Linked DNA regions of Homo sapiens: region 1 is linked to region 2. The links are contacts of gene promoters, found by promoter capture Hi-C in human tissues and cell types (Jung and others, 2019). All regions are on one chromosome and are shown on one strand. The core of a region is centred on a gene start or on the middle of the fragment in contact, and the rest is flanking DNA. Distances in the headings are between cores, read along the strand shown.

Region 1 (6,940 bases), core at 569-3,068, 290 kb after region 2:
ATGTTTACAAATTGGTTTTAATTTTTTGAAACTGTTGTTGTGCCATGTAATCCATTATGGTTTTCTTCACAGAAACATTTAAATGGAGTTTTTTCCTTTATCTAAACTCTTAACCAAAAAATTTTTTTCTTTTGTTTTGAGATGGAGTCTCACTCTGTTGCCCAGGCTGGAGTGCAGTGGTGCAATCTTGGCTCACTGCAACCTCCTCCCCGCGAGTTCAAGCCATTCTTTCAGGTACACATGGAACATTCACTTAGATAGACCATAACCAGGGCTATAAATAAATCTTAATTAATTTAAGAATTTAAATCATGCAAAATATATTCTCTGGCCAAATGTATTAAATTAGAAATCAGGCTTGGCACAGTGGCTCACAACTATAATCCCAACACTTGGGGAGGCCAAGGCAGGAGAAATGCTTGAGCCCAGGAGCTCAAGACCAGCCTGGAACACAAAATGAGACCCCATCTCTACAGAAAAAATGTTTAAAATTAGCCAGGTGTAATGGTGTGTGCCTGTAGTCCCAGTTACTTGCAAGGCTGAGGCAAGAGGTTGCTTGAGCCCAAGAGTTGGAGGCTGCAGTGAACCATGATCATGCCACCTGCACTCCAGCCTGAGCAACAAGCAAGACCCTCTCCCTAAAAGAAATAAATAAATTAGAAATCAATAATAATTAAGATATCTAGAAAATGTCCCAATATTTGGAAATTAAAGACTACATTTCTAAATAACCTACACTTCAAAGAAAAAATCATTAGGTAAATTAGAAAATATTTTAGTAAATGATAAAAAGCACAACATAACAACGTTTGTGAGATGCAATGAAAGACATATTAGGGGAAAATTTGCAGTTTTAATGTTAGAAAAGGATAAAAATCAGTTATCTAAGCTTCTATCTTAACAAGCTAGCAAAGAAGGGTAAATGAAGCCCAAAGTAAACAAAGACCAAATGATAGTAACAATAAAAATATAAACCAATGAAAAAGAAAAACAAAAGAGAAAAGTTAACAAAAATTAACAAAATCACCATTTGTGTAAAATTATTAATAAATTTAATAACTCCCTAGCAAGACTGGTTACAAACAAAAAAGAGAAAATAGAAATTACAAACATCAGGAATGAAAAATAAGACATCACACTATAGACATTAAAAGGATAATAAGGGGATATTATGAACAATTTCATGACAATAAACCTGACAAATTACATAAAATAAACTTTGACAAGACACAGTTCCACTTATAGAAAGTATATTTCTTCTTTATGATACTTACAGAAAGATATAGTGACAACTACAGAAAGATTTAGAAGAGGGAGGCTCTAAAGAGCTATATATCCATTGAATAAATAGAGCTCAATATTTTAAATCTTCAGGAATAGATGGTGAATTCTACCAAACATTTAATGAAAACAATAATCCTAATCATAATCATAAACTGATATGGTTTGGCTGTGTCCCCACCCAAATCTCACCTTGAATTGTAATAATCCTCAAGTGTCAAGGGTGGGGCCAGTGGACATAATCGAATCATGGGGGCAGTGTCCCCATAAGTGAATAAGTCTCACGAGATTTAATGGTTTTTATAAATGGGAGTTCCCCTGCACAAGCCCTCTTGCCTGCCGCCATGTAAGAGGTGAATTTGCTCCTCATTCGCCTTCCACCATGATTGTGAGGTCTCCCCAGCCATATGGAACTGTGAGTCAGTTAAACCTCTTTCTTTTATAACTTACCCAGTCTCAGATATTTCTTTATTAGCAGCATTAGAACCAACTAATGCACAAACTCAACCAGAAATAAAAAAGGGAGGGAAGACTTCCCAACTCATTTTATGAGGTCAGCATAACCCTAACAAAAAAATCTGGAAAAGACACTAAAAGAAAACTATAGACCAATATCCCTCATAAACATACTCTCAAAAATCTTTAATAAAATATTAGAAAATCAATAAGGTTAAGAGCTCTGTTGTATAACATGGTGACTACAGTTAATAACAATGTATAATATTTTTGAAAATTGCTAAGAGAAAAGATTTTGTGTTCTCATCACAAAAATAGGTATGTGAGGTAAAACACGTTAATTAATTCAATTTAGCCATTCCACAATGTATGTACATATTTTGAATCATGCAATATACAGTACATACAATTTGTATTTGTCTATTTAAAAATTAAAGGGTGACTATAGTTAATAATGTATTGAATGTTCTCACTACAAAGAAATGATAAATGTTTGAGCTGATGGTGTGAAAGGAAAATAAATCTCGGTATCCCAAAATCACTAAGCCAAAGGGAAAAGTCAAGCTGGGAACTGTGTCAGGCAAACCTACCTCCCATTCTATTCCTAAAGGAGATAGCAACAGAGATAAAAAATAAAATAAAATAAAATAAAATAAAATAAAAGAAGAAGCTACATTAACTCCCTCACAATTTGCCCATAAGGAAATTCCCCGCTTCAAATTGTCTTTCCCCTGCCCTTCTGGCCAATGTACATCTTACATGTATTGATTGATATTTCATGTCTCCCTAAAATGTATAAAACCAAGCTGTGCCCCAACCACCTTAGGCACATGTGTCAGGACCTCCTAAGTCTGTGTCATGGGCACACCCTTAACCTTGGCAAAAATAAGCTTTCTAAATTAATTGAATCCTGTTTCTGATATTTGGGGTTCACAATGGGTTGCTACTTACACTGATTTGATTATTATACAATGTATAAATGAAAGTACAATTATGTATCAATTTAAACATTTTTTAAAACACTTCTAATGTGTAGATTAACTTCTTCATTTATATTTAAATATGAATCTTCAGCAAAATAGCAAAAGTAACCATCTTGATTTAATGTCCTAGTATTTTCTTCCAAAAAATGAATTGTATAACCTTAGGTGAGGACAATAAAATCAGTTAAACTGTAAGTTTAGAACAGATCTGAGGGATAATTTTGCACAGCAGCTTTACTAATGGTACATTGTTGATTCAACAAAATGTTGGTTACACATACACACACACACACACACACACACACACACACACACACACACACAACTTAGTGGGAAACAAACAGCCAAAGGGATCAGTACCTCAACTTTGGGGGTCCTCAAATAAAGCTTTATTTGGAATTTGTAATACTGCAACCAGAACCAATCAGAATCCATTTTTTCTAGGGAGGGTTGGTAGTATAAATGAGAGTATAAACAAAGTAAATTCAAGGTATATGCATGCAATGACTGCCAAACTCAAACCACTTCATATTTAATCATTTACATGATATTCCACAAAAGGCAAAACTAGAGGGACAAAGAATGAATCAGTAGTTGCCAGGGGCTCAGGGTAGAGGAAGAAATGGATTACCAAAAGGGCATAAGAGACTTCTGGGGGATAATATAGTCTATATGTTGTGTATAGTAAGGGTTACATTACATTATTTTTAAGAATCCAAAGAACTGTATACCTAAAAAGAGTGAATTTTGCCATATGTACATTATACCTCAAAAAGCATGAATGTTTAAAAAGTGTGATCAAGAGAGTCGCTGAAGATACATGAGAACATAACAGATAGTGATAAAAATTCTACTGGATTTGTCAAAAGTTTTAAAAATTATTTTCTAATAATTTCAGAAGTCAAATATGCATACTGAATAATATATAATCTAGTAATTTTCTAGCACTATCAAGTAAGACTACCTAAAATTTTGAGTTTGGGTTAAGCTTAGCAATATTTGCCTTAGAATTCAAACAGAAGTTATGTAAACTAATCTTGTGTTGTTTTATATTCATATTGTATTGCTTCTTACTTACCTGTGCTTTAACTATCGAATCCTGTATTGTTTTTAACATGTAAACCACTGCTTGCCTTTCTAGATCTGGGCAATAAGTACATATTAAATAAAACTTACCTGCAGCTTTAGGAATTGTCAATATATCGGATAATTTAGTCATAAATTCTTGAATGCTAACCTTGCCACTTTCTGTAAGGCAAAGCATAATTTACTTAAAAGAAAGAATTATTGTTTCAGAATTAAATAATATAGCTGAAGCTAATAGTCAAATTATAACAGAAGTTAAAAGCTTGAGAGTAAGGCTGGGCTATTTCTTCTCCCTTACCTCTTGCATGCATATGATTATCAATTTCTGCTCATTTTATTTCCAAATACTTCTTGAATTTACTACTGCATTAACTAATACCTTTATTATTACAATGGCATCTTTAAAAACCTATGCCACCAGTCTCATCTTCTATTTATTTTCCACAGTATGTCAAGGGATGTATTCCTCTTTAAAAAAATTGATTATTCCCATGCATAAAACCCTTCAGTAGCTCCTAATTGCCTACAAAACTACAGAATAAATATAATACTGAGGAGGTGAGGGAGGGAAATTATAGACCAATATTACTCATACATGTGTTAAAGTATAAGTAAAATACTACTTATAGGATTCGGCAGTACAACAATGAAAAAAAAATTCAAGATACTTTCAGAACATACATTCTCATTGAGAGTGATACTGCTCTCAAGGGGTAAAACTGGTTCTTAGGAGAAAAAAAAAATCTCAGATATTACAATAGTTTCTGGCCATAGTACTTAAACAGATATATGGTATATCTGTGGTATTAAATTTTCATGGGGGTGGGGGATAATTAGGAACTAAAATGTCTATAAAGGCTTCTTAGGGGAGCAAGAGAAAAAAAGGTTAGAAACACTGCTTTAGTATGACAGTAGACACATAAATTTAATCTCTCCACGTGGTCTCCAAAAATCCATACAAATTAACAAGTAAGGCAAGTAAAATAACCTATAGTCCATGCCTACAGTGTAACTAAGAGGCAGAATATTAAACATTTGTATTTGCATATAAGTCAGGAAATAAAAATTTAGGACCAGCGCAGTCAGCTTCAGAGCCTACACCAAAGAGGAAACTCAGGCCAGACATGGTGGCTCATGCCTGTAATCTCAGCACTTTGGGAGGCTGAGATGGGCAGATCACTTAAGGTCAGGAGTTCCAAACCAGCCAGGCCAACATGGTGAAACCCCGTCTCTACTGAAAATACAAAAATTAGCCAGGGGTGGTGGCAGGAGCCTGTAATCCCAGCTACTCGGGAGGCTGAGGCAGAAGAATCGCTTGCACCTTCAAGGCGGAGGTTGCAGTGAGCCGAGAATGTGCCACTGCACTCCAGCCTGAGCGACAGAGCAAGAATCTGTCTAAAAAAAAAAAAAAAAAAAAAAAACAAAACAAAGAGGAAACTCAGGTGGCAATTTCATAGAAGAAAGAATAAGGAAATATCTTTATAATACAGAACATGGATAATATCAATGAGAGTTTACCCATAAGAAGAGAGTCCCCTTGCTGTGTAGGGAAATACTAAGAACAAGTCAGAGAGCTGATGGATGAAAGCCTTAACCTCTGGGGAGATAAAAGAAAGAAGCTTGGAAATACAGGAGGCCAAAGATAGCAGTCTTGAGATGGTATATGAGGGAAGCAGAAATTAATATTAGAACCTGGGTACAGGACAGATTCTGAAAGTGAATAGTATTACATAAAGCTTGGTAGGAAAATCGCACTAGTTCACCAGTAATGGATCCAAACCAAGAAGAAATCCCTGATTTACCTGAAAAAGAGTTCACGAAGTTAGTTATTAAGCTAATCAGGGAGGGACCAGAGAAAGACAAAGCCCAATGCAAGGAAATCCAAAATATGATACAAGAAGTGAAGGGGGAAATAGTCAAGGGAATAAAGAAAAAACCATCAAAAATTCAGGAAATTTTGGACACGCTTTTAGAAATGCAAAATGCTCCGGAAAGTCTCAGTAATAGAGCTGAACAAGTAGAAGAAGGAAATTCAGAGCTCGAAGATAAGTTCTTCTAATTAACTCAATCCAACAAAGACAAAAAAAAAAAAAAGAATAAGACTATATGAAGAAAGCCTCCAAGAAGTCTGTGATTATGTTAAACAACCAAATCTAAGAATAGTTGGTGTACCTGAGGAAGAAGAGAATTCTAAAAGCCTGGAAAACATATTTGGGGGAATAATCGAGGAAAACTTCCCTGGCCTTGATATCCAAGATGCTAGAGACCTAGATATCCAAAAACAAGAAGCACAAAGAACACCTGGGAAATTCATAGCAAAACAATCTTCGCCTAGGCACATTGTCATCAGGTTATCCAAAGTTAAGACGAAGGAAAGACTCGTAAGAGCTGTGAGACAGAAGCACCAGGTAACCTGTAAACGAAAACCTATCTGATTAACAGCAGATTTCTCAGTAGAAACCCTACAAGGTAGAAGGGATTAGGGCCCTATCTTCAGCCTCTTCAAACAAAACAATTATCAGCCAAGAATTTTATATCCAGTGAAACTAAGCATCATATATGAAGGAAAGATACAGTCTTATTCAGACAAATGAATGCTAAGAGAATTCATCATTACCAAACCACCACTACAAAAACTGCTAAAAGGAGCTCTAAATCTTGAAACAAATCCTGGAAACACATCAAAACAGAACATTTTTAAGCACAAATTACACAGGACCTATAAAACAAAAATACAAGTTAAAAAGCAAAAACAAAAAACAAAAAACCAAAGTACTCAGACAACAAAGAATATGATGAATGTAACCATACCTCACATTTCAATACTAACACTGAATGTCAAAGGCCTAAATGCTCCACTTAAAAGATACAGAACTGCAGAATGGGTAAGAACTCACCAACCAATCATCTGCTGCCTTCAGAAGACTCACCTAGCACATAAGGACTCAAATAAACTTAAAGTAAAGGGGTGGAAAAAGGCATTTCATGCAAATGGACACCAAAAGTGAGCAGGGGTAGCTATCCTTACATCAGACAAGCAAACTTTAAAGCAACAGCAGTTAAAAGAGACAAAGAAGGACATTATACAATGCTAAAGGCCTTATCCAACAGGAAAATATCACAATTCTAAACAT
Region 2 (6,426 bases), core at 1-2,500:
AATCTCCCCCCGTACACACACACCACCACCACCGCTACCACCACCACTACCACCACTAAAGCTGACCTGAGCACACCAGCAGCAAAGGAGCCGGGGGAGGTGGGCGCAGGGGGCCCGGAGATAAGGGGCTCCCTTCCCCTCCAGTTTCCCACACAGGAGGCCCAGGCGTCCTGTCCGCCCAGAGCACAGGCTTTCACTGCCCGCTGCGACTCCTCTACAGTAGAGAGTGGGGCAGGGGCGCACACCAATTCTAGGTGAAGCCACAGTCACCCTTCCCCTAAATCAAGGTGACTTCTCACTGTCCCGCACTCACCCGTCTCCCTTGTGAGTCCTCTGGCTGTTGGTGCAACAGCCTGGGCACAGACGCCCCTCCGGAGCTTTCCCTGTCCTCCTAACAACCCCATTCCCCTGTCTCCCTACGCTGAAGCCAAAGCAGTGAGGGACACGGAGTCAGAAGCATTGTCGAGCCAGAAAAACAGACGAGACGTTCTTGTTCCGGCGCGGGCACAGAGGCCCCAAGGGCCGGCGCGCCGCACTCACCGTCCCTGCTTGGTGATGATCATCTCTGTCTGGTGCTGATTAAACTTGGACCACAACAGGTGGTTGTTGAGCGCGACCCTCAGTTTCCCCGACACCTCCAGTCCCGCGGGTAGCGCGTAGTCCTCACGCGGCCCCGGGTAGAGCCCGGCGCGCGGGTCCGGGGCGGCGTAGCCCTCGCCCGGCTGGTAGCCCTCGGCGTCCGCGGGCGGCGGGAAGGACTCGCCCGCGCCGGGGAAGCCGGCCGCCTGGGGTCGCGGCGGGTAGGCGTAGGCTCCAAGGAAGCGGCTCGGCGGGGCGGGCACCAAGGCGCCCCCCGGGTAGGGAGACCCCAGGCTGCCGCCCCCGCGACGCTCGTCCGCGTCCTGCGCGCCCGGCTCCGGGTAGAAGTAGCGGTGCTGCGGGTCGGCGCCAGGCGCCCGGCCCTCGTCGCTCCCCGGCATCGGCTCGGTGCCCGTCAGCATGTCTCCGCAACCCGGCTCCACGATGCCCATCCGGGGCGGGCTGGCACCTTCCCGTAGCCGTCGAGGACCCGCCCCTCCGCGCGCGAGAGGGTCGCGTGGGCTGGGATGGGCAGGGAGCAGGGGGCGGGGGACCCGAGGGCCGGGTGGGGGACCCCACCGGAGCCCGGGCTCTGACGCCTGGCTTCTACGCCCTCGTCCGGCAGGCGCGCGGCAGCTCTCGGGCTTCCTCTCCAGCGGGCCGCTGTCACTAGAGTCGCAGCGCTTTGCTGTGGCTTTATGAAGCTCTCCGGCTCCCCCCCACTCCGCCACCTCGGCCCTGCTCCGCCTCGCCCCACCCCGCCCTCTCGTGGCTAATACTAGGCAAATTCTACGCTCTTGGCGAGTACTGCAGGGCCCCCCATGGTGGAGAGAAGCGAGAGCCTGCGCGCACCCTGTAGTTCGAAGATCTTGCTTTCTGGGAGTGTCAGCTCCGCTGCCTGACACACCAGCCCGTGGCTCTCTTCTGGACCCTCGGGGAAATTCAGCCCAGCTTTGAAGTCTCAGCTCAAAGGCCCTCTCCTACAGGAAGCCTTCCGAGATGGCCCAAGTGGGACTCGCTGGGCATTCTCCTGGCACTCAGAGGCTCGGAGCACGGGCACACTAGAAGCAACTTTGACCATGAACATTCAATCGATCTTTATTGATACCTACTGTGTGCCCAGACTCTGTGCTAAGTGACCTTTCGGGTTGCCCTCTTTCTCCCCACCAGAGGTCCACATGTGCTGAGTTGGCTGCATCTTGTAGCTCTAGCCCTGGGGGCAGACCTGGAACCTGATGGACAACAGGAAATGTTCCTTAAAGCGCACTGCATCAGCAGCAGCCAGGGGTTTGCAGGGCCCTGAGCTGGGCCTGGCAGGGCCCACAAAAGCTCCCCTACCCTGCATGGCAGTCATGGGCACTGGAAGTAGCATTGGGCTGCCAGTGCTGAGAGTCCCAGGTCTGGCTCTGCCTGCCAGGTATATGTGACCCAGGCAAGTCATTTTCCTTGCCTGAAAGTCAACCTCACGTGCCTCATCCATAGACTGGGGGAAATAAACAGATCTACTTTTCAGGGGGGCTGCAAGCCTTACATGAGAGGGTGTACGTGTGCAGCACTTTCCAATCTATTATTATACCTGGATGGAAAAGCTGCTTTGAACAGATTCAGAGCCGGCTGACAGGAAGGAAACCCACCACATGCTCTGAAGGGCTGCCTCGGAGATAGGACGATGGAGGCTTTTCTTTCTCCATTTTCCTTTTATGTTAACTAATGTATTAGACTCCTTTTATGATGAAAACTATCCGTTTCCCCCCCCCCAATTGAAAATAGCATCATTGGGAGTTTTCCTGTGTATAAAGATGAAACATACTTATATAGGAAATTTAAGCAGCACAGAAAAGTAAAAACAAGACTGTATAAATCACCCCAAATTCCACCCCCTAAAGCCAAACAGGATTAACATTTCAGTGAACACCCTCTGAGACCTCACTCCTTATATACTCTCTGTCTCTGTCTTTTGCACACATGCACAAATATATAATTTATATAAACACTACACATGCTGCTTTATAATGTGTACTTTTTTTTCACTCCACAAGGTGTCATGGAATATTTTGCATATCAGTATATAGATAAAGATTTACATTTTTAAGAGTACTTTGAAAAATACTTTAATATTTTTGTCATGTTAAAGTTTAACTTCTCCTCTCTCTACCTTCACCCCAGTCCTCCCCAGTTCTCCCCTGGGAACTGGCCCCAGCTCTACATTTCTGTCCCAGCCTGACAGGGCTTCACCCTTAGGGGCCTATGGGGACTCTCTGCTCCCAAATAGAGCTGAACCAAGAGGCAAGTTGGCAGGCAAAGGCAAAGCTGGGGACTCCAGGAGGTGGGCATGACCCAGGGAGGCTTGGGGGAGAGAGAATCAGCACATCTTTTGAGGTTGGAGACCGGATACATGACAGTACCAGAAACACAGGACTGGCCTCCTCCCCAACACCTTACCCACCATTTCTCCGTACCTTAAGGAACAGGGAAGTTTCTGCCTGATGTTCAAAGTGGGGCAGCATTGCTTGGAAGAGAGGGTGACCTTGGGATCCTTCACTACTTTTGGGGAAACATGAGAGCTTTCAGTAAGACCCTCCTGAATGACTGATTCCCTAGGAGATGTGAGACTGTTGAATGCTGACACCCCTTTGGGGGACATTTTTGCTCAGTGCTTGGCTGTTGAAGATCAAATGGAGTCTTGCTCCTCCCTCTCTCTCCCCCTCCTCTTTTCCACATTAATCCTCAGGTCAAGTGATTCATCCCCTTGCCTCTGAACAGGATGACATGAGCTCCCACCCAGCTTTCTGGGGCAGGTGGAATTATGAATCTCAGAATCAGGTGGCCCTGGGGCCATGCCTCTGGAGGAAGAGGAAGGCTGGGGGTGGTCTCTCTAGAACCTGACAGGCTGTTATAGGGTCTTACAGCCTGGTTCCTCAATCCCCGATTTCTCACCCCCTCTCTCCAATTTCTTCCACCCAAAAAAGAAAGTGCTTGTGAAAAGCGGGGGCTGAGTGGCCCTGGTGTCACTGCTGCCAGTCCCGCCCCTCTGCCAGCTTGGGTGAGAATAAGGGCCCTGGCAGTGACACCTTCTCCTCCAGCTGCCACCTCACCCTCCTCCCGGGCCCTGGGGCTGGAAAGGTGGGAGAAGAGGAGTGAGGAGATGAGGCCCCCTGGGATCCCCTCACTTCCCCATGGCTGCTCCTCCCAGCCCTCTCTATCCCATCAATACAGGGAGCATTATGAGGCTGGTCCTGGTGAGACCGGAGTGAAGAAACACAAGATAAGTGTCCAGGAATGAGAGAGACATGGCCTCCAACCAGCATCACATTTTATGAGACACGGTGGATGGTAACTATGCAAAATGGAATAAGACACCAAACTCACACAGTGCATTTGTGGCAGAGCTGAAGCTAGAACCCAGGTCTCTTGACTCCCAGGCCAGTGCTCTTCCCACAAGAATGAGGAAGAATCATACTAACACTGGAAAAGGTTTAGAAAACAGGCCGGGCGTGGTGGCTCATGCCTGTAATCCCAACACTTTGGGATGCCAAGGCCAGCAAATCACTTGAGGCCAGAAGTTCTAGACTACCCTGGCCAACATGACAAAACCCCATCTCTACTAAAAACACAAAAATTAGCTGGGCATGATGGGCGCCTGTAATCCCAGCTACTCAGGAGGCTGAGGCAGGAGAATCACTTGAACCCAGGAGGCAGAGGTTGCAGTGAGCCGAGATCGTGCCGCTGCACTCCAGCCCGGGAGACAGAGCAAGACTCCATCTCAAAACAAAAACAAAAACAAAAATAAAAATTAGCAGGTGTGGTGGCTGGCCCCTGTAATCCCAGCTACTCAGGAGGCTGAGGCAAGAGAATCACTTGACCCCAGGAGGAGGAGGTTGCAGTGAGCTGAGACTGTGCCACTGCACTCCAGCCTGAGTGACAGAGGGAGACTCGGTCTCAAAGAAACAAAAAGAAAAAGAAAAGAAAAGGTTTAGAAAACAGAAAAGAAAATCATGCCTAATCCCACAGCCTAGACACTGGTTCTCTCCACGCTGTTGTCCTCTGCAAACGTTCAGGGCTTCCTTTCAAACTGTTTCCCATGAAGACTCAAAATGAGAGAGGCTCCCCGAAGGTCACACAGCACTTGCTTCACCTGTGGGCTGCAGACTATGCCAGGAAGCCACAACGATGTGGATTTCTGGGACTTGCTTCTAGAGATTCTGAGGCCCAGGCCTGTGGCGGGTCTCTAGAATCTGTATGTTTAAGGACTCCAGGTGATGCGTTGGACTTCAGGGAGTCCATGCACCCCACTCTCAGGCTCCCTCCCATTTTGCTGTCCCATCTCCAAGTCCCATCCTGCGAGTCAGTGTGCCTTGAGCTTGCTGGGTATGCACACTGAGGGCGGTGGAGGAGGTTTCATGCCTGAGGAGGGTGGCTGCAGGCATTGAGATTTCCTTATTGATGCTCTAGGACCAGATGATTCCTCACCCCAGAGTCTACCAGCCACCTGGGTCCTCTCCTGAAAACGTATGGAGTGCTGAGCTCCCTAGGCACCTGGAAGGCTCTTGGATGGGTTTGGTGGGGCAGCTGGGGAGGAGCGGCTATTACTGGAAACTGTTTTTTTGTTTTGTTTTGTTTTGTTTTGTTTTTTGAGACAGAGTCACTTGCTCTGTCACCCAGGCTGGAGTGCAGTGGTGCGATCTCAGCTCACTGCAACCTCCACCTCCCGGGTTCAAGCAATTCTCCTGCCTCAGCCTCCCGTGGTGGGTGGGACTAGAGGCACATGCCACCACGACCGGCTAATTTTTTGTATTTTTAGTAGAGATGGGGTTTCACCATGTTGGCCAGGCTGGTCTCGATCTCCTGACCTCGTGATCTGCCCGCCTCAGCCTCCCAAAGTGTTGGGATTACAGGCATCAGCCACCACGCCCAGCCTACTGGAAACTGTTAGTGGAGCATGGCATGGCACCAGGACCCAGGATTTCCACCCTCCACCCTGCTGGGCAGAGCCTTAGAGGCTGTGAGAGGGTAGATAGTAAAAGAGAGGGGGCAGCGAGTTGGGGAGAAGGCGTGAAAAGAAAGAGAGAGCAAAGTGAGAGGCTTAGGGTGCATTTCTGAAAGAAAGATTTAGACCCAGAGAGGGACAGGGACCACAAAGTCAGGGACCCAGATCGTGACTCAGTGGGAAAGTCTCAGGCTGGGCCTGCGAGAGGGGCATGAAAGAAAGGAGACAGACAGAGATGGGCCAATGGGAGGAAAGTCTGCAGAGGCAGAGAGGCCTGGGGGTGCTGGAGCTGGGGCAGAGAGAAATGGGGTGGGGAGACTTAGTTGGGTGGCTGGGTTGGAACCTCAATCCCAACCCTTACTGGCTGTGCTACCTATTAAAGTATCTTAACCTCTCTGGGTTTTTTTTGTCAGTAAATGGAGCTATCAGACCTCTGCCAGGACTGACTGGGTCTGTCATGTGAAGGTTGAGGGATGCTGTCCTAAGGCTGAAACAAAACAGAGGCATAAACTGTGCTAAGCCCTCTTTCCTCTACTCCCAGCCACTTACACCTGCCCTTTCCTCCCTCTGGCTTAGTGGCTCATCCACAAAGTGTCCTTCAGGTCCATCCTCAGCCTCCACTCAGGGCCTGGGGCCAAAAGAGAGCCCCTCTGTTCATAAGACTCACATATTAGAAAGGGACAGGCTTCCCCTCCTGATACCCATATACCATTCCCTGGGTACCTGAGCGCTGGGATAAGCCAGGCCCTTGGAGATCTGGGATCACAAAGATAAATTAGGGTCAGTCCCTGCCCCCAAAGAGCTCCTAGCAAAGTGACCCCCTCAGCCCTCTTGCTCCTGGGGTGTAGACTCACAACACA

Evidence for each region. The method cuts DNA at HindIII sites, captures the fragments that hold promoters and counts their contacts. A contact is called where the count stands out against the background at its distance.
Region 1: a fragment that was not itself captured here is called in contact with the fragment with the promoter of TBX21 in region 2 in 4 of the 25 tissues and cell types used here (adrenal gland, lymphoblastoid cells, spleen and 1 more).

The regions. Positions count from the first base shown.
Region 1 is chr17:47,437,459-47,444,398 of GRCh38, reverse strand. EFCAB13 (EF-hand calcium binding domain 13) reads right to left here. Exons shown (of 25, transcript NM_152347.5): 25 at 3,087-3,968. The coding sequence ends at 3,685. Among named protein-coding and RNA genes, the nearest start is that of NPEPPS, 90 kb to the left of the region's middle. The HindIII fragment of the contact is 4,140 bases long and covers 1-3,888 here.
Region 2 is chr17:47,728,060-47,734,485 of GRCh38, reverse strand. It overlaps TBX21 (T-box transcription factor 21), which reads right to left and starts at 1,250. Exons shown (of 6, transcript NM_013351.2): 1 at 541-1,250. The coding sequence starts at 1,031. RefSeq lists an enhancer at 462-511, silencers at 692-861, 892-1,431 and a promoter at 1,243-3,242. The HindIII fragment of the contact is 11,884 bases long and covers 1-6,426 here.